Linked DNA regions of Homo sapiens: all the other regions are linked to region 1. Evidence: promoter capture Hi-C in human tissues and cell types (Jung and others, 2019). All regions are on one chromosome and are shown on one strand. The core of a region is centred on a gene start or on the middle of the fragment in contact, and the rest is flanking DNA. Distances in the headings are between cores, read along the strand shown. Region 1 holds the start of POU4F1 (POU class 4 homeobox 1). Region 2 overlaps EDNRB (endothelin receptor type B). Region 3 overlaps EDNRB-AS1 (EDNRB antisense RNA 1).

Region 1 (3,355 bases), core at 73-2,572:
CCCCCGGGCCGTCGTGGGCGCCGCCGCCGCCGGCCGCCGCGCCCGCGCCGCCCGCGCCGGCCATGAGCGCGAGCGACGGCGAGGAGATGTGGTCCAGCAGATCGCCGGGTTCGAGCGCCTGGTGGTGGTGGTGGTGGTGGTGGTGGTGCGCCAGAGGCACCGTGGAAGTGGACGTGCACGGCACGCTGTTCATCGTGTGGTACGTGGCGTCCGGCTTGAAAGGATGGCTCTTGCCCTGGGACACGGCGATGTCCACGGCCGCCAGCGCCTCGGCCCGCGCCAGCAGCGTCTCGTCCAGGCTGGCGAAGAGGTTGCTCTGCAGCTGCAGGCGACACAAACCAAACCAAAAAAACCACAAAACCAAAAGAGCAAAACAAAACAACAGAAGAAACACACACACAGGCCGGAAAGCACAGCATGCGAAGGGCAAACACAAAGCAACCAAAATAACAACGGGTTTGGGGGCAGTGGAGAGCGGGAAAGACGGAGAGGGGGCACATTGACGACCAGGGAGGGGGCAGACGAGAAGGGATGGGAGCGTGGAGAGGGGGACAGAAGTAGGGAGAAAGGGGGACACAAGAACACATTCCGGAAACGGGCGTGGGAGACGAAAAAGAGGGAAAAGAAGAAATGGAAATGTAACTCGCAGCTGGGGACCCGTGTCACACACCCGAGCACGCACAGAGACTGCCTTTCTGAGGCGTGAAATTAACAGAGAAAGTAGAGGGAAGTCGAGAGTCCTGGCCCCAGCGCTCCCTACTCCGATCGCAGGCGCCTGACGCGGAGGCAGAGGCAGACAGGAACACGACATTAAGGGCCGCCGGACAAAACGTGCCTCGCTGCGGGACTGCTCTACACCCCCTGCCCGCAGTTCCCCGCACCGGGACCTGCACACACCAGCCCCCGACATGCAGCGTTTCGGAGACGGGGAGGGGCGGGCGCGCGGGCCGGGGCCGCGGGCGTGGGGCGCTTACCGGCGGCGTGGGCAGGCAGGCCCGCCGGATGGCCTCGGAGCTGGAGTGCAGCGACGGGTACTTGTGCTCAGGGAGGGTGGGATGCATGGCAAAGTGAGGCTGCTTGCTGTTCATGGACATCATCGTGGCGGCTTGGCATGTATATCCACAAACACTCCGAAAGTCCGCGGGAAAGTGCGTACGCCGGCTCACCCGGCCTCCCTTCGGAGGCTGCAGCCGCGGCGGTCGCGGCGGCTGGCGGCGGCCCCGCCGCGGGCTGCTGCTGCTGCTCCTGCTGCTGCCAGGCGCTCCCTCTGACCGCGCAGAGCGCCGCGCGCCGGCCTCGCGGTCCCGCTTCTCCGACAGCTCTAGCCCCGCGCGCCGACGGGATGCACTCCTCTAACACCTGAGCCCCACTTCTCGCGGCCGTCCCGGGGAGCTCTCGCGAGAGCTCGCGGCCCCACCGCGCTGACAGGCATCAGCTGTCTCCGTCTGTCTGACGCGCGCTCTCCTTCTCGGCGGCCCCGTGCGTCTGCGCGCGCGCGCGCTCGTCCGGCCGCGACCAGCGCGTGGGAGCCGCTCTTATAGTGACCACCAGCAAGGACAGCGCAGGTGATGCACCTGTAGCTACCCGGGCATGCGCACTGCCCGCCTCACCTTTCCCACCGTGGTCTGGAAAGATCAGAAGGTCCAGCTATTGTCTAAGGGTGGGCACCTTTTAGAATAAAAAAGACGAGATGCGCGCACGCCCCTCTATGTGTGTGTGTGTGTGTGTGTGTGCGTGCGTGTGTGTGTATGTGTGTATGTTTCTTCTCCCTGATAGCAAGCCTTGAATATATGAGCATTACTTAGGCATTCCTCCTCTTCGGGATGCCTAACAAGCTGTTGTATAATGTATACAGCTGGACATTTCTACGTTAAATTATGCCCGCGCATTCCTCTGTATACAGTATAAATAACAACACAGAAATGCAGAAGGTGCTGTCTTTTGCTGCAAGAACCTGTTTCTTTAAAGGTTTATAAATAGGTTCCTGGAGAATAATCGCGGTGACAGACATTTGTTTGAAGCAGTCAGACGCTATTGATTTCCATATAATTTAATTTCCTCCGCATACTTTTTTGTTGTTGTTGTGAATATAACTGTGTCAGGCACCGCCAGTGACAGCCACTTAGGAGCCACAAGGAGCGTGTGCTTTCTACTCGGGAAAAGCTGTTGAAATGAAATTGTGCATTTCTCTTATTGTTTGTCTCCTTCAACCGTGTACAAACCCACGTTTCAAACGAGCTCCGGGTGATCTAAGGCTTCTAGTAATCAAAAGGAAAAAACAGTTAACAGGGTGTAGTTGGGATCCTTCCTCCCCTCAGCGTACACACACACACACACACACACACACACACACACACACTTTATGCTGGGAACTCCAGGAAAACTGCTTCAGAGAAAAGGGAATAAGATGTTGAAAAGAGAACTTTCTTTTCCCTTCCATCTTTTTGGCTTTTTGCCTCATATCTCTGCCTGCTTATATATATTTTTTTCAATAGGAGACAGATCAAACTAACTTACAGGAAAGCTTGATTCAAAAATATTAAATCAAGCCAATTTGAAAGAACGGGGACAAGCTCTGGTCCAGTTTTTAAATTTTTAAAAAATTATTGTGAAATTAAGACCTAAAAAGAATAAATCAATTAGCCAACCTGTTATATGGCCCTTATGTGGTAGCAGATCAAGAGCCTCCCAGGGGAGCCACAGTTCAGGTGCCAAAGTCCCCAGGGAAGGAGCACTTGCTCGCGGTGATAATAACCTAACAGCCCAGATGTTATCACATCTGCGGTAAGAGAGCTGGAGAGCAGCAAGGGGCTGCTTATGGAAAGCAGAAATCAGATAATCTTTCTGTTCTCTCCCACACCAAGGAAGTCTGTATTTCCACCAAAGAGCAGATCTCATTTCTATAAACCTAAATTTGCGTTCCCGTGGATTTTATCTTTCCTCTGCACAAATGCATGTGTGTTTAGCATACCCACTCACCTACTCAGATTCCAAGAAGAGCCCACAGGCGTCACCATGGCTTTTTCTTTCTTTCTTTTCATGTTCCCCCCCACCCCCTCCCTTCCTTCTAGCTCCAGAGGGAAGTGAGAAGGATGTTCACTTGCTGGTGAGAGAAGGAGCTGGTTCCATCCATTACGCAGTCCCCTGGGAGCGCTAAATGCAACTTTATCTCAACGGGGAGTGGACGATGAGCAGGACGTCGCTAGAGGGAAAGAGTGAGTCCTACGGTAGTCATCACACCGGGAGTCCGGGCTTAACCTAGTCCTTCCTGACACCCCTGGTGGCCGTTCCCTGCGCTCTCTCTTGACGGGAAAGAAAAGGCCCCCACAGAGGGTGAGGGCCTGGAACCTGCCCC
Region 2 (3,809 bases), core at 1,150-3,649, 690 kb before region 1:
CCCACATGCCTGCTTGCATTTGTTTGCTCACTTAAGTGAGTAATAGATCCACATTTGAACCCAGATGGTCTAGAGCCTATGCTTACAACCACTATAATACCTGCCCGACAGTGGTTTGAAGGAGGTGATTGTACAAAACAAAATGTTTAGAATTAAATCAAATTTTTTTTAAACCTATAGCTATGTGTCAAATAATAGTAAAATATCTAGATGCAGAGCAAAATCTTCTGCTCACCTAGTGCGATGGTTAACTTTATGTGTTAACTTGACCAGCCACTGGTTGCTCAATTAAACATTCTCTATTTCTGAGTGTGTCTGTGAGGATGTGTCTGGAAGAAATTAGTATATGAATTTGTGGACTCAGAACAGCAGATTGCCTTACCCTAGGTGGGTGGCCATTATCCAATCTCTTGAGGGCCTGAATAGAACAAAAGGCAGAGGCAGAAGGAATTTGCCCCTTTTTCTTCCTATCTGGAATGTCTCATTTCATCTCCCCTGGCCCTCAGACTGGTTTCTCAGGCCTTTGGACTTGGACTGAATTACACCACTGGCTTTCCTATATTTGCAGCTTGCAAATGGCCAATTATGGGACTTCTTAGCCTCTATAATCTCATAAACCAATTCCTCATTATCTATTTATCTGTCTGTCTACTAACTACCTATCTACCTATCCATCCATCTATCTATCCCACTGGTTCTGTTTCTCTGGAGAACCCTGACTAATCCCCCTAGTTATTTTATTCAAATAATGTACAAACATTTGGATATTTTAAAATATTTTATTCTGTCTTAAATTATTTCCAAATATGTTAATATTGTTATCCTGTAGGTATGGCTATCAGAAGAATCAAGATGAATGAGCGTCCAGACCATTGAAGGGAAAGAAGTCTGGCTGATGAAAATGAGCTCTGCACTGAATCCAGGCCATGTTTTGAGGTTTCCATTGTTTTTGGCTCAGCCTAGAAATTGGATTATTGCTCTTCATACCACTGGAGGCCTGCAGCCCAACCTCTGACCCAAGCTATCACAGAAAACAGGGAAACACAAACTGAAAATTATAACAATGCTCTTCAAGCTCAACAGAGAGATAGTCAGACACGTAATCACCACGGAGAGATTACAGTTTTCTAGTCTACACTTTTGAAGGGAAAGAGACTGCAAAAAAAAAAAAAAAAAAAAAAAGAGAGAGAGAGCATTAACCTTTATCAGCTTTCAGCATTTCATGCTTTCAATTTAGAACTGGATGCTATTGGCTCTGGAAGGCCATAGAAGATGTGGGAAGAGCATGCACTGTTGCTTCCATTATTTTGTAGTGAGAAGGATGGCTTTGGCGAGACTCTAAACGCTCTTCCTTTAAAAATCTTAACCTCTGCCTCACTGATCAGAAGGCTTTGTGGAGACCCAGCAAAGCCTGATACTCTGTGACAGAAACCATGCCCACTATTGATGCTCATCTCTGTCATCTTAATGGCCTCTAGCAAGAAAGTCTTTAGGCAAGCTAGTGCTTGAAGCTTACCTAAAATATAAAGGTATCCCTGGTGGGGAAAAACTATGAAGTTTTGCCAAAAAAAAAAAAAAAAAAATTCACTCTCAACCAAGATGCCATCTTTAAAATTTGGTGAGAGATTGTTCTTATAGATGGGTATGATTCTTAGACATTCATTTCTTCATCATTCTTTGGGAAAAATAACAACATCTAACATCAATAATTTGAAGTCTAAGGATACAGCTTTCCCCACTGAAGAGGAAATGGATTCACTTTATTGCAAGAGGAAGCAACTCTAACTTTAAACCCAGCAATAACACATTCCTTATTCCCTATTTTTAGTTTTTTCTTTGGACTTTACCCCATTAAATTAGATAACTTAAGGGCAAGGTCTGAACAGTGAAGACAATTCAAACATGTAATCAAAAGGCTGTCTCTCTGATCGCAAAAAGGGTGTTTAGAGTTTAATATTGACACTATGTCGCTTCCACATAAATTAAAATTTTAAATCCTGTTTAAAATTCAGTTGAATATATGTTACCTAACATTGATCAAATATGAGCCAGTTGGCAATACTCACATAACTGGCACTGGTTTTCATATCATGATGTCTCATCTAACTGAATAGCTGTTGTTAGTGTTAAGTCCTGCTGGCAATATGGTATCCATTTGACAAAATGATAGCCTATGTTTGTGCTGACCCATTTTACCCTAAGGCTTATACTGCTTCTCTAGAACATTTCTTTTGGATGATAAACACAAATAAATAAACACTAGATTGAAAAAAGGTGTGGCCATACTGGCTAAAAGATTTCTACTCAAGAAAGACCGTGATTTTATAACTTTACCTTGGAACAGCTGCTTGAGAAAGAAACAAGGCAAGAGAATCCAAATAAATTATTCTATTACATTATAAAGTCATTTTGATATTATAGTTTAAAATTTTTCTAAAAGGATAAATAGCATGAATAAGAAACAAATATTCTTTACTTATTTGAGGGTTTTGTGAAGTGAATCCTACAAAATCTCTCTAACCAGGGGATTTACATGTTTCATTTCTCTTTTTAATTAAAAATCACATACTTGAGATAATAAATGAAGAAAAAAAATCCTGTTAACACACACCCCTGTTAATGCCAAAAGGAGTCAAGCCCCATAAAGTCAGGAAATGTCAAAGTTAACCATCTTGTACAAGCAAATGTTCACTCACCTCATTAAACATAGATAGCATTTTCTTTTTCTACTTTATTAAATTACAAATGTACATTGAGCTTTAACTGTTTATTTGTTTCAGAATATTCTACAACATTTATAATGCCTAGTACAGTGATTGGCACACAGTGGTCACTCATTCAATGTTTGTTAAGTAACGATGAACGGATGAGTGGATGAATGAATTTGATCACACGGCAGAAATCATCTATGACAAAACATTTGTCATGAGCTTTTCAGTTCTCATACTCTACATATATTCTTTAGATAATTGACATGACTGTATATTTACTATTTATATTTTCTAGTACTGATGATCAGGTCTTCTTGGCACATAGAGTCAGAAACTCTAGAATTGAGGCTTGAGAGTGGGCTGGACTCTTGTTGGAGTTCTGCTCTTCCATGCAGGGCGGAAAAGGTAACGACAAAAATTCCTCTCCCACCCTCTCTCTCCTACTCAAACTTGTCAAGGCAATGACTGATACAAAACAGAACCTACTGTTTCTCACTATGTAATGGGAGTCTATGAAGAGCTTCAGCTGTGGAGAGGATTGTTAAGTTTCGTGGAAGTAGATGCAGTAAACATAGGAGCATTGTAAGAGATGATTGTTTTAGAGGATGAGTGAGTGGTGTAATTAAGAGGACAACCAAGATTACTTTGCCAGACTGCAGTCTATTCCATCCTGTGATAAGTTGTGAACGTTTCTTTAAACGACTGGCATTATATAAATGTTTTCACAGTAAGAGTCAAAAAAGGAAAATAATGGAATGGCTGCATTTCACAACTTTAGGAAAGGGTGTATTCTGTTTTTGTCTCTGTTTCCTGTAGTAGTTAAGAGTTTTTCTGTGTTTGAACTAGAGTTTTAATGAGATAGGGCACCTTCACTAAAGGACTTCCATGCCAGAACTCTTTCTGTATTAATACACAAAGAAATAGTTCAAAGTAAGCTTTGAATTTGGAGTCAATATGCTGATCAAGTGCATGGAAATATTTTCTTCTTGACATACAGTGCACCGTGCCCTGAAGGACAAATATAAATTACAAGTTCTACCCTGCATCCATCAGAATGCCCTTAATCACTTAAAGATTAGCCTATGTGAGTTAGAAATA
Region 3 (3,267 bases), core at 86-2,585, 760 kb before region 1:
ACAGAAACCTGCCTTCTTGGCCACAGTGATTTGTCCATGGGTGGAAATAGCTAACCCAAAGTAGACCAGTGAGTTGTTTTTCTTAGAATGTTAACTTGAGTCAGTTCCTGCAGGCAAAGCTGTGAGTTATTAGACCCCAGGACACAAGATGACCATATTCCCTGCAGTGTAAAACAAGTCAATCTGAACACGACTTCAGAATTACAGAGAGTGGGGCCAGGATGTTCTGATACCATTTGGTCTCTGGTTCTAGCCACTTCTTTGACCAAGCTGTACTCTGTCCTTCATTTGGCTACTTGACACCTCCATGAAATTCTCTTGGTAGCATGTTCCATTTCAATTGGGCTTCTCTCACTTGTGATGTGTCAAATAACACAGAAAAATTTTGGTATGTTAATGATTGTTACAGAAGACAAGGTGGAGCCTGCTATTTTATTCTAATATTATTATATTATAACATTATAAGCCATCTTTATGTTTTAAGTGCCCTTCATGCACATTACTTTTAATGACCATGTAATATTTCATCATATAGCTATATTAAAACTTTATTTAACTTTTCCGCTAGTAAGGTAAATTTAGATAATTTTTTTAAGACAGAATCTTAAAATCAACGGGTGGAAAGCTTTTGATATATATTGCCAAATTGTTTTTAGGAAGGTTGTAGCCCCTGGAATCCCATCTGTACTGTCCAAACACACTGTTTCATTGCACCATTTCTAGCACTGATTATTAATAGTTTAAAATATTTTGATCATTTGTACTAGTAGAGTTCAAAATTTCCTCTCATGTTTATCTTGTGTCTATTTTTCTATCATTTGATTGCTAATGCACTTCTTATTGATGTATATACGTTTTTAAAATACAATTAACTTTTTATAATATTTGTGTTATTTTTTTCCCTTTGTTTTATAGTTTGCTTTAGCTTTTGGTTACTTTTTTATATAACAAAGATTTATATTTTAATGCTACTAAATATATTAGTCTTCCTTTCCCCCCCAATTACTATTAAGCTTAGAATATCCTTCTATGATAAATATCAGATATTCACCTATATTTTACCTTTCTTAAAATAAATATTTAAAAAATTTCATCTGTCATCAATGTGGGATTCATTTTCTCCAAAATAATTAGCCATTCTGAAAACTAATTATTGATTAATCTCTTCTCTCACCTATTGATCTATAATAAGATCTAAAACACAATATATTAAATATTTTATATACGTAAAAATGGTTGTTCATAGATCTATACCAACCATCTACAAATGTATCCTTCTTTCCCATTCTATAAGGTTTTAATTGTTTTATTTGTATATACTTTGATAAGAAGTGACAATAGTAATAGCTATCACATATTGAGTGCTTGCTTACTATGCACCAGACATTGCCCTAAATAATTTCCATTTATTATAATTTTTAAGCTTGTCAAAAACTTATGAATTTCTAAGAGGTTCTTCTTCATTACTCTTCTTTTACAAATTATCCTTAGGTATTCCTGCCCCTCAGATGAACTCTAGAATTATTTTGAGAAGTTCTGTATTTTTTCCTTAAATATAAAAAAATCACTTAATATTTTTACAAATATTGCCAAAATTTTCTTCTGGATGAGTGCAGTAGGGCTGGCTCAGCCTGGGATGTTGGGAGCAGGGACTGGACAAGGGCATATTAGGAACCTCCCCACCACTGCAGAGCAAGGGGAGAGGGAGACGTGAAAATGAACAGACAGTATAGTGCAGTGCTGTTCAATAGAAATATAATAAAAAGTACATCATACAAAAGTACATGTGTAATTTTGAACAACTTTCTAGTAGACAAACAAGATAAAAAAGGTTAAATTATTCTAATAATATATTTCATTTAACCCAACCTATCCCAAATATTTTCAAAAAGTTATCCTTATATAAATTATGAACGGAATATTTTACATTTTTTCTACTAATATTTGAAATGGCGTGAACATTGTACACATACAGCATGGATCAACCGGGATCAACCACATTATGAGTGCTCAGTAGCTTCAGGTGGTTGGTGGCTATGGTATTGCACAGCACAGATTTAGAGAAAGCCTCCAATCTTAGAACAGCAGGGAGGAAAAGGTAGGCTAGGCCAGAGAAAAATTCCACAAGATAAAACCAGCTGTTCCATAGGGCAAATAGAGGGTGAATTTGAGAGTTGCTCAGAGAGGCAATCTAAAACTAGACCTTCTTTCAGAGTCTACATCTTAAGCTCTCAGTGAGTAGTGGTGCTAACAGGGTGCTGGTCCAGTTTAGACAATGATATTTAATCTTCCTTTATATTGCATAATCCTGGAGTGAACAAATAACAGAACATTTACAACTAGAAGAAAAAAGCTAGCATATTTTTAAGGTGGTCTTTTTATTTTGTATATACTCAGATGGTTTTTCAGTGTCACGGGAATATAAAATGAAAAGTTTGAAAAGCTTGTTCCAAAAACGTGAGGGTATTTGAGAGAAAAACTCACCTTCTTTTTTGTTTATTTAGGGAAGGAGATTGAACTGTTTATTAATAATAGAATACAGGACAATACTTCTCTGTATATCTGTGGAGAAGCATAGCAAAATAGAAGGCTTGTTTACTTACGGTGGGTCCAGAAGTTCACAAAAACAAGTCCAGAACTAAGAGAATAAATGTATAGCTCTATGCTATAAAGAAAGTAACATTCAATGTTTTCAAGAAACAATGGTGATCAAATATGCCATCTAAAGTCATCAGAAGTGAAGACTCTTCATGTTGTGCAGTAGCTTCCCCTTATCTGCAGTTTCACTTTCTGTGGTTTTAGTTACCCATTGTCAACTGCAGTCTGAAAATATTAGATGAAATTTTAAAAATAAACAATTCATAAGTTTTAAATTATGTGCCATTCTGAGTATTGATGTAACTGTTCTATTTTATTATGTTACTGTTGTGAATCTCTTACAGTGCCTAGTTTATAAATTAAACTTTATCATAAGTATTTATGTATGTATAGGAAAAAAACATAGTATATTTATATAGGGTTTGGTACTCTCCAACGTTTCAGTCACCCACTGGGGTCTTGGAATGTGTCCTCTGTGGATAAGAGGGACTACCATGGTCTTTATTACCATCTAGTTGGTAATTACTCATCTGCTTCTGTTAAAAAGGATGAAAGGCAAAGCAGATGTCTTCAGAAATACTAGTGAAGATATCTGAAAAGAGAAACTTGCCAATACGTGAAAAATAGCAGTTCACGCAGGTAGCAATAGTGAAGGTAATAGATTCGAAT

The links. Contacts are between HindIII fragments. The study calls those that stand out against the background at their distance.
Region 2: a fragment that was not itself captured here is called in contact with the fragment with the promoter of POU4F1 in region 1 in 1 of the 25 tissues and cell types used here (lymphoblastoid cells).
Region 3: a fragment that was not itself captured here is called in contact with the fragment with the promoter of POU4F1 in region 1 in 1 of the 25 tissues and cell types used here (lymphoblastoid cells).

What each region holds. Positions count from the first base shown.
Region 1 is chr13:78,602,230-78,605,584 of GRCh38, forward strand. POU4F1 (POU class 4 homeobox 1) reads right to left here and starts at 1,323. Exons shown (of 2, transcript NM_006237.4): 1 at 975-1,323; 2 at 1-322. The coding sequence starts at 1,097. OBI1-AS1 (OBI1 antisense RNA 1) reads left to right here. Exons shown (of 6, transcript NR_047001.1): 4 at 3,072-3,215. RefSeq lists a silencer at 1,114-1,273. The HindIII fragment of the contact is 11,230 bases long and covers 1-3,355 here.
Region 2 is chr13:77,906,863-77,910,671 of GRCh38, forward strand. All of the region lies in intron 1 of EDNRB (endothelin receptor type B), which reads right to left. It overlaps EDNRB-AS1 (EDNRB antisense RNA 1), which reads left to right. Exons shown (of 7, transcript NR_103853.1): 7 at 830-1,580. Among named protein-coding and RNA genes, the nearest start is that of EDNRB, 10 kb to the right of the region's middle. The HindIII fragment of the contact is 4,484 bases long and covers 158-3,809 here.
Region 3 is chr13:77,843,614-77,846,880 of GRCh38, forward strand. The region is part of intron 6 of EDNRB-AS1 (EDNRB antisense RNA 1); the gene reads left to right. Among named protein-coding and RNA genes, the nearest start is that of EDNRB-AS1, 26 kb to the left of the region's middle. The HindIII fragment of the contact is 3,131 bases long and covers 1-2,901 here.